Regions from separate parts of the Homo sapiens genome. Here region 1 is linked to region 2. Evidence: promoter capture Hi-C in human tissues and cell types (Jung and others, 2019). All regions are on one chromosome and are shown on one strand. Each heading gives the region's core, a stretch centred on a gene start or on the middle of the fragment in contact. The rest is flanking DNA. Distances are from core to core; before and after follow the strand shown. Region 1 has its middle 76 kb from the start of NHLRC3. Region 2 holds the start of COG6 (component of oligomeric golgi complex 6).

Region 1 (3,979 bases), core at 622-3,121, 540 kb before region 2:
GTGAAAGTTTTCCTGGGGGCCCTTTCTCTGTTGTGTTGCTTCCTGCAGAAGGATTACACATTCCTGCCCTGTTCAGGTGGAGCTGTGTAACTTATTTAGAACAATAAAATTTGAGTGAAGTCATGTAAGTTATTTCTGAGCAGAAATTTTAAGAGCTAGTGAATAGTTCCCTATCTCTCTTTGTCCTCTGCTTGGAGACCAGTAAATCCAGATAGGGGCTTTCCCATCAAATAGGGCCCCTGTGTGAAAATAAGGGGCAGAGTTTCAGCTGACCCACAATGGCTTATTACATGAGTGAGGAATACGGGGATCTCTTGTTACTGCAGCATAACTTAGCCTAAGCTGACAAAACTGTATTACTTACTCCATCAATTATGCTACATAGTTAACATAGTCTTGCTACAAAATTCCAGTTGGTATTTAAAAAATAAGCATTTATTTCTCACTCTTGTTTGCAGGTTGGCTGAGGTCCAACTTATCTAGATTGGATTTGGCTGGCCGTGGCTTCAGGCTTAGGCTGAGTTCAGGTACATTCCACGTGCTACTCATTCTGAGACTAGAAGGTTACCCTGGACACATTCTTCTCATGACAAAAGGAAAGAGCACAAAAGGACAACCCCAAGCCTATAGATGTGTTTTAAATGGACTGCTTTCATCCCATTCAGAACATTCAATTGGCCAAAGCAAGCTTCCCGGCTAAATCCAGTATCAGCTAGGCAAGGAAATATACTCTGCCTCTTGTAGGGCAAACTGCAAAGTCTTATGACTAAGGTGGTAGATAAAGGGAGAAGGAAAGAGTAGAGAACAATAATGCAATCCACCACTAGCTGGATAATTATTTATCAGCAGGTTCAATGGGAGTCCCTTGAATTCTGTGTGCTCCTGGCATGAGCCACACCATCACCTCTCTCCCTGTGTGACATTTACAGCTGGAGAGGATCCAAATTCTGTGGGACTGAGCTTTATACACTTTGGGGTGCTCTTTTCAAGTAAAAGATCACAAAATACCAGGCAAATGTATTGCTAGCTTCTCCTGGGGTCCTCAAAAGGGCCCATGCAAATGAGGGTCTTTGAAACTGAAGCTTCTTTAGCTTCTCATTAAATCAGCCCCTGCTCACAGGCTCACCGCCGTGATCTTTCTTGTGAACAGTCGCTAAAATCTCACTTTTATGTTTACTGACTTATGTCAGTCTTCAAGTAGCTGAGGATTTCCAGATCATCCCACAATACCTATAACTATACGCATGGTTCAAATGTTACTTTCTCAAGGAGAACTTCTTTAACGAGCCTATTAAAAATTGTTTCTACCCCATAGAATCTCCATCCCTTTCCTGCTTTCCTTTTCTTGATAGAATTTATCTTATATATTACATATTTTATTTATTTGTTTGTTTATGTATTTTCTCCCACTAAAATATAAGCTCCATGAGGGTGGGATACTTCATCAGCTTTGAACATTAATATATTTTTAGTGTTTCAAAAAATGCATGGGATATGGTATGTTCTTAATAAAGATGTATTGAACAAGTATATAAAGGAAAGAGTCATGTATTCTGCTGTTTTTATTCTAATGTATGTCGAGAAAGAAAACAGTTGGAATGGAATTGATATTAAACATATTACCAAAACAGAGCTGGAAAGTACCTTAGAGATCATAGTCAAAATTTCTTACTTTATAAATTGGGAAACCTTGCAAAGTAGCTAATTTCTGGGATTTTGCAGATATGGGCATTTAAATGTATACCTTTTACATCATCTTTTTTACTGTTTTATTTTATTTTTTTAAGTTCTGTGGTACAAATGCAGGATGTGCAGGTTGGTTACATGGGTAAACATATACCATGGTGGTTTGCTGGACCTATCAGCTTAGGTATTAAGCCCAGCATCCATTAGCTCTTTTCTAATGCTCTCCCCTCCCCTCCCCTCCCCCAATAGGCCCCAGTGTGTGTTGTTCCCCTCCCTGTGCCCACGTGTTCTTGTTGTTCAACTCCCACTTATAAGTGAGAACATGTGTTGTCTGGTTTTCTGTTCCTGCATTAGTTTGCTGAGGATAATGGCTTCCAGCTTCATCCACGTCCCTGCAAAGGACATGATCTCATTCCTTTTTTGGCTGCATAATAGTCCATGGCATATATGTACCACATTTTCTTTATCCAGTCTATAATTGATGGGCATTTGGGTTGATTCTATGTCTTTGCTATTGTGAATAGTGCTGCAATGAACATACTCATGCATGTATCTTTATAATAGAATGATTTATGTTCCTTTGGGTATATACCCAGTAATGGGATTGCTGGGTCAAATGGTATTTCTGGTTCTAAATTTTTGAGGAATCACCACACTGTCTTCCACAATGGTTGAACTAATTTACATTCCCACCAACAGTGTAAAAGCCTTCCTATTTCTCCATGATCTCACCAGCATCTGTTGTTTCTTGACTTTTTAAAAATCACCATTCTGATTGGCTTGAGATGGTATCTCATTTTCATTTTGATTTGCATTTCTCTAATTGTCAGTGATGTTGAGCTTTTTATCATTTGTTTCTTGGCCACATGAATGTCTTCTTTTGAGAAGTATCTGTTCATATATTTTGCCCACTTTTTAATGGGATTGTTTTCATCCAGTAAATTTGTTTAAGTTCCTTGTAGACTCTGGATATTAGACTTTTGTCAGATGGATAGATTATAAACATATTCTCCCATTCTGTAGGTTGTCTATTCACCGTGATGATAGCTTTTTTTGCTGTGCAGAAGCTCTTTAGTTTAACTAGATCCCATTTGTCAATTTTTGCTTTTGTTGCAATTGCTTCTGGTGATTTCATCATAAAATCTTTGCCCATGCCCATGTCCTGAATGGTATTGCCTAGATTTTCTCCTAGAGTTTTTATAGTTTTGGGTTTTACATTTAAGTCTTTAATCCATCTTGAGTTAATTTTTGCATAAAGTGTAAGGAAGGAATCCAGTTTCAATTTTCTGTATATGGCTAGCCAGTTTTCCCAACACCATTTAATGAATAGGGGATCCTTTCCCCATTGCTTGTTTTTGTCAAGTTTGTCAAAGATCAGATAGTTGTAGGCATGTGGCCTTATTTCTGGGTTCTCTATTTTGTTCCATGGGTCTATGTATCTGTTTTTGTACCAGTACCATGCTGTTTTGGTTACTATAGCCTTGTAATATAGTTTGACATTGGGTGGTGTGATGCCTCCAGGTTTGTTCTTTTTGCTGAGGTTTGTCCTGGCTATATGAGCTCTTTTTTGGTTCCATATGAATTTTAGTTTTTTTTTTTTAATTCTGTGAAGAATGTCAATGATAGTTTAATGGGAATAGCATTGAATTTATGAATTGCTTTGGGCAATATGGCCATTTTCATAATATTGATTCTTCCTATCCATGAGCATGGAATGTTTTCCCATCTGCTTGTGTCCTCTCTGATTTCCTTGAGCAGTGGTTTGTAGTTCTCCTTGAAGAGATCCTTCATTTCCCTTGTTAACTGTATTCCTAGATATTTTATTCCTTTTTGTGGCAATTGTAAATGGACGTTCATTCATGATTTGGCTCTCTGTTTGTCTGTCATTGGTGTATAGGGATGCTTGTGATTTGTGCACATTGATTTTGTGTCCTGAGACTTTGCTGAAGTTGCTAATCAGGTTAAGAAGCTTTTGGGCTGAGTCAATGGTGTTTTCTAGATATAGTATCATGTCATCCACAAACAAAGACAATTTGATTTCCTCTCTTCCTACTTTTGAATACCCTTTATTTCTTTCTCTTGCCTGATTGCCCTGGCCAGAACTTCCAATACTATGTTGAATAAGAGAGAGGGCATCATTGTCTTGAGCCAGTTTTCAAAAGGAATGCTTCCAGCTTTTGCCCACTTAGTATAATATTGGCTGTGGGTCTGCCATAAATGACTCTTATTATTTTGAGGCATATTCCTTCAATACCTAGCTTATTGAGAGTTTTTAACTTTAAGGATGTTGAAC
Region 2 (4,595 bases), core at 1,844-4,343:
CTGAAACTATAAAATTTTATTAGGCCTGTGCAAAAGTAATTGCGATTTTTGCCATTACTTTCAATGGCAAAACCTGCAATTACTTTTGTGCCAATGTAATAGAAGAAAACACAGGAATAAATTTTTGTGATCTAGGTTGGGTAATAATTTCTTGAATAAGGCACCAAAAGCACAAATAATAAAAAAGGAAATTGATAAGTTGTATCTCATCAAATTAAGATTAATTGTGCTTCAAAGGATGCCATTGAGAAAGTGAAAAGACAAGCAAAAGTAGGAAAAAATATTTTCCAATAAATTGTTAGGACTAGTATCCAGAATATATAAAGAATTCTTACAACTCAATATCACTAGTCACTAGGAAATGGAAAGCCAAATCTCAATGAGGTATCATATCACACTGAGTAGGATGGATAAGATAAAAAAGACAGACCATAATGAGTGTTAGTCAGGATGTGAAGAATACTGGAGCCCCTCATACAGTGCTGGTGGGAATGAAAAATGGGGCAGTCACTTCGGAAAACTATTTGACAGTTTCTCAAAACATTAAACATAGAGTTAACCATAAGAACAATCTACTCCTAGGTATCTTCCTAAGGAAAGTGAAAACATACATCCACACAAAAACTCTCACATGAAAATTCACAGAGACATTTTTCATAAAAGCCAAAAATTTGAAACTACCTAAATAGCCATCTGACGAATGAATAAAATATGGGAGATCCATACAATGGATTATTATTTGGCAATAATAGGGAATGAAACACTGATACAAGCTACAAAATAGATGAACCTTGAAAAATTATGCTAAGTGAAAGAAGTCAGGCATGAAATGTTACATATTGTATAATTCTGTTTATATGAAATGTCCAAACTGGCATATCTATAGAGACAGAGAGCAGATTTGTGGTTTCCTAGGGTGGTAGAGAGGGGAAAATGGGGAGTGCTAGTGGGTACAGTTTTCTTCTTAAAGTAATGAAAATGTCTTAAAATTAGATGATGGTGATATTTGCCAACTCTGTAAATGAACTAAAAGCTGTCATATTTTATACTTTTAATAGGTGAAGTTTATGGCCTGTAAATTATATCTAAATAAAGATTTTAAAAATTAATATAAATTTGTATTTTTTATTACTTAAACATTTTGTCTATTTATCTCCAATTTACTTTTTAAAATAAACAGCTTTATTTTTTTTTTTTCAATTTTAAGATAGGGCCTTGCTCCATCACCCAGGCTAGAGTAGAGGGCAGTGGCATGATTATGACTTACCGCAGGCTTGAGCTCAAGTGATACTCCCACCTCAACCTTCCAAGTAGCTGGGACCACAGGCATGCCACCACACTCGACTAGTTTTCGTATTTTTTTTTTTTTTTTTGTAGAGACAGGGTCTCGCTATGTTGCCCAGGCTGGTCTTTAACTCCTGAACTCGAGATCCCCCTGCCTAAGCCTCCCAAAGTGCTGGGAATACAGGTGTGAGCCACCATACCTGGCCTAAAAAACAGATTTGAGATGAAACTTGCATGCCATTCAATTCATTCATTTAAAGTGTACAGTTCAGTGTTTTTTAGTATATTTACAGAGTTGTGCAACCATCACCACAATTTAGCTTTAGAGTATTTTCATCTCCCCAAAAATTAACCTGTACCATGAACTGACACTCCCCATTCCCTCTTCCCAACACTCCTCTTCCCAGAACCACTCATCTACTTTCTATCTCTATTGATTTACCTATTTGGGAGATTTCACATAAAGAGGTCATACAATATGTGGTATTTCATGACCGCTCCTGACTTGGCATGTTATCATCGTCATTCCTTTTAATTGTACATATTTGCAAGCTCTACATTATATTATTGCTTTGTATATATGCAAATTCATTTGGATATATACACCTTAGGTAAACCTTTGATATTTTAATTTTGGTTACACTGAACTTAAATTTATCTGTGAAAGAGAAAAGACATCTTACAATATTGAGTCTTCCTGTTGAAGAGAACAATATATTTTTTCATTGATTTAAGTTTTATGTTCTCCCAGTAGCATTTTAAAGTTTTCTTCATCTAGGTTCTCTGTATTTTTTGTTGAATTCATACCTAGATATTGCTGCTTTTTGTATATTTTTTTCTTTTGGATAGTTGGGCCTTCTCTTCTTCATTAGAGTAGAGATGAGTGGTTTTGTCAGTGCTTTCTTTATGTGACCTCTGTAATAGGTAATTTTCCCTTAAGTCTGATATACAATATAACTATGTACATAGACATATATGAAACAAGGAAAATTTATGACAAGAGCCAAATAGTGTTTCTGACAAATAATTCACAGAAGCCCAGCGATTTTATTTTGATCCAAATTTTAAAAACTGAGAAAAGAAAGAAAAAAAGCAATGATGTTTGTTTTCCAGAGTTTCCCGGGAAGTTTTTTCAACTTGTTACATTTTTATCCATTACTTTACAGCTACATGGGCTCTGGTCCATTTGTGTCAGGGCCAAGTTCATCTTGTTTTGAGGCCTGTACACTTACACACTTTCTTCTGCCTGGGAATGATTTCTCCTCACATTCTGATTCTCCTTCAAATCTCAGTTTAAGTGTCAACTCCTCTCCAAACCTCCCTGAGTGAAGTGGGCCTTTCCCTCCATTTTCTTTCACTGTACTACTTCATCCCCTGAGCACTCATCACAACCTAATAACATCTATTAACAGCTTTGTCTGTTTCAGACACACAATGTAGATTCTCCAATGCCTACCAGAGTACCTGGCACATACTATGCCTTCAATAAATAATTTTCAAAAAAATGAATTCAGATAAGGCAAATGTAATTTAAACTTTCAGTTAACTTATATTGAATGTATATGCCAGGCACAAGTCATGGTGTATTTTACATACTACATTTGGTTGTCATCTAATTAGCTCTGAAGGTCGCAGATCCATAATTCCAAAGTCCTCTCTAATCCTATAAATTTTCTCCTTCTACCTGAGGGTCTTGTCCCGCCCCCCACATCTTCTCCGCCCCTCACGCTTCTGAGAGCCCAAGCAGGGTTACCCGGCGAAGACTTCCGGGGCCGATGCGCATGCGCGGCCGATTTGCACATGCGCAATACTCGCGCTGCCTCCGTGGTCCCTGCCTGGCTGAGGTGGCAGCAGGGGGCGGGACGCGCAGCGCTATGGCAGAGGGCAGCGGGGAAGTGGTCGCAGTGTCTGCGACCGGGGCTGCCAACGGCCTCAACAATGGGGCAGGCGGGACCTCGGCGACGACCTGCAACCCGCTGTCGCGCAAGCTGCATAAGATCCTGGAGACGCGGCTGGACAACGACAAGGTAACCGGGGCTGGCGGGGCCGGAGTCACAGGTTCCTGCGGGGCTGAGCCGGGCCAGGGGCGGCGTCTGTCAGGGACCCACCGCGGTCTCCCTCGTCCCGGCAGCAGAGGGACCGCGAGTGACCCCAGACCTGCGGGCTCCGCTGCTCTGCGGGCGCCGGGGGCGGTGAGAAGGGGGAGCCCCAGCAACCTCCGGAAAAGCGAAGGGGTTTCCTGGGTGTTCTCTCCACCTGAAAAGGTGCCTTCAAGGCTCTCTGGATGGGATTGGTGAACGGTGGTGCCTCGAGAAGTGTCCTCCAAACACCCCTGGAGGCGTTTGGCTGTGTGAGCTGGGAGAGTGGAGGAGAGCACAAGACTGGATATGAAACAGATGCAAAAGAGCAGATTCCAAGATAAGGTAGCGCAAATGGGGGTCGGGAGACCAAGAGAGCAGTGGTAGGGATAAGGGTGCATTTCCACGGACAAGTGACAACAATTGCAATAATTTGCAGCGCGAAAGAACTACCTTTGCCCGTGGCTGAAATGAACTCATATCTACTAGTTTTTGTTGAGCCAAGCGCTATGATTTGTGGGCTCAGGCTGTATTTCTTTAGAAGATAAACTGACAGCATGCTCTCACAAGTACCTCCTGAAACTTAAGTTGGACTTTACAGCTCCTCACATACCCAGCCATCTCTTCTGTCTCTGTGGGTCGCTAGGTAAATTGGTCATGACAGTGTAACATAAAGAAGAACATATGTCAAAGTTAGAGAGTTTTATAGGTGAATATGTAGGTAACTGAAAATAAGCTGTCGATAACAATTTGATTCCGATATGTAAAAAAATAACATTGCAATGTAATGAATAAGAAATTAGGGCTCTGGAGACTACCACTTATTAGATAGAACCACTAAATGTGTGCATCATGATTTGAGTAAGTCCCTTCACTAATCTCAGCTTCTGTTTAGGAATTAGGAATCCTGCTGTTAAGTTTCTCATGGTTGTTATTTGAGGACTCAGTGAGAGACTCCAGGTAAAGTCCTTTGCAAAGAGCCTGGCACTTACTCTTTCTTAACAAATATTAATTTTATCATAAAATTTATGAAGTGTTTAATGTGTCTCATATTGATATTTATTATATCATTTAAGACTGCTACTTGCTCTGATATAGATAACATGGCCTTCTTTTTTGGACAGAGTTTTGCTCTTTTTGCCCAAGCTGGAGTGCAATGGGCGCAGTCTCGGCTCACTGCAACCTCTGCCTCCCGGGTTCAAGCGATTCTCCTGCCTCAGCCTCCCAAGTAGC

The links. Contacts are between HindIII fragments. The study calls those that stand out against the background at their distance.
Region 1: a contact is called between a fragment that was not itself captured here and the fragment with the promoter of COG6 in region 2, in 2 of the 25 tissues and cell types used here (dorsolateral prefrontal cortex and mesendoderm cells).

What each region holds. Positions count from the first base shown.
Region 1 is chr13:39,112,233-39,116,211 of GRCh38, forward strand. No RefSeq gene overlaps it. Among named protein-coding and RNA genes, the nearest start is that of NHLRC3, 76 kb to the left of the region's middle. The HindIII fragment of the contact is 4,041 bases long and covers 1-3,892 here.
Region 2 is chr13:39,652,569-39,657,163 of GRCh38, forward strand. It overlaps COG6 (component of oligomeric golgi complex 6), which reads left to right and starts at 3,094. Exons shown (of 19, transcript NM_020751.3): 1 at 3,094-3,311. The coding sequence starts at 3,159. RefSeq lists a silencer at 3,358-3,407. The HindIII fragment of the contact is 9,691 bases long and covers 1-4,595 here.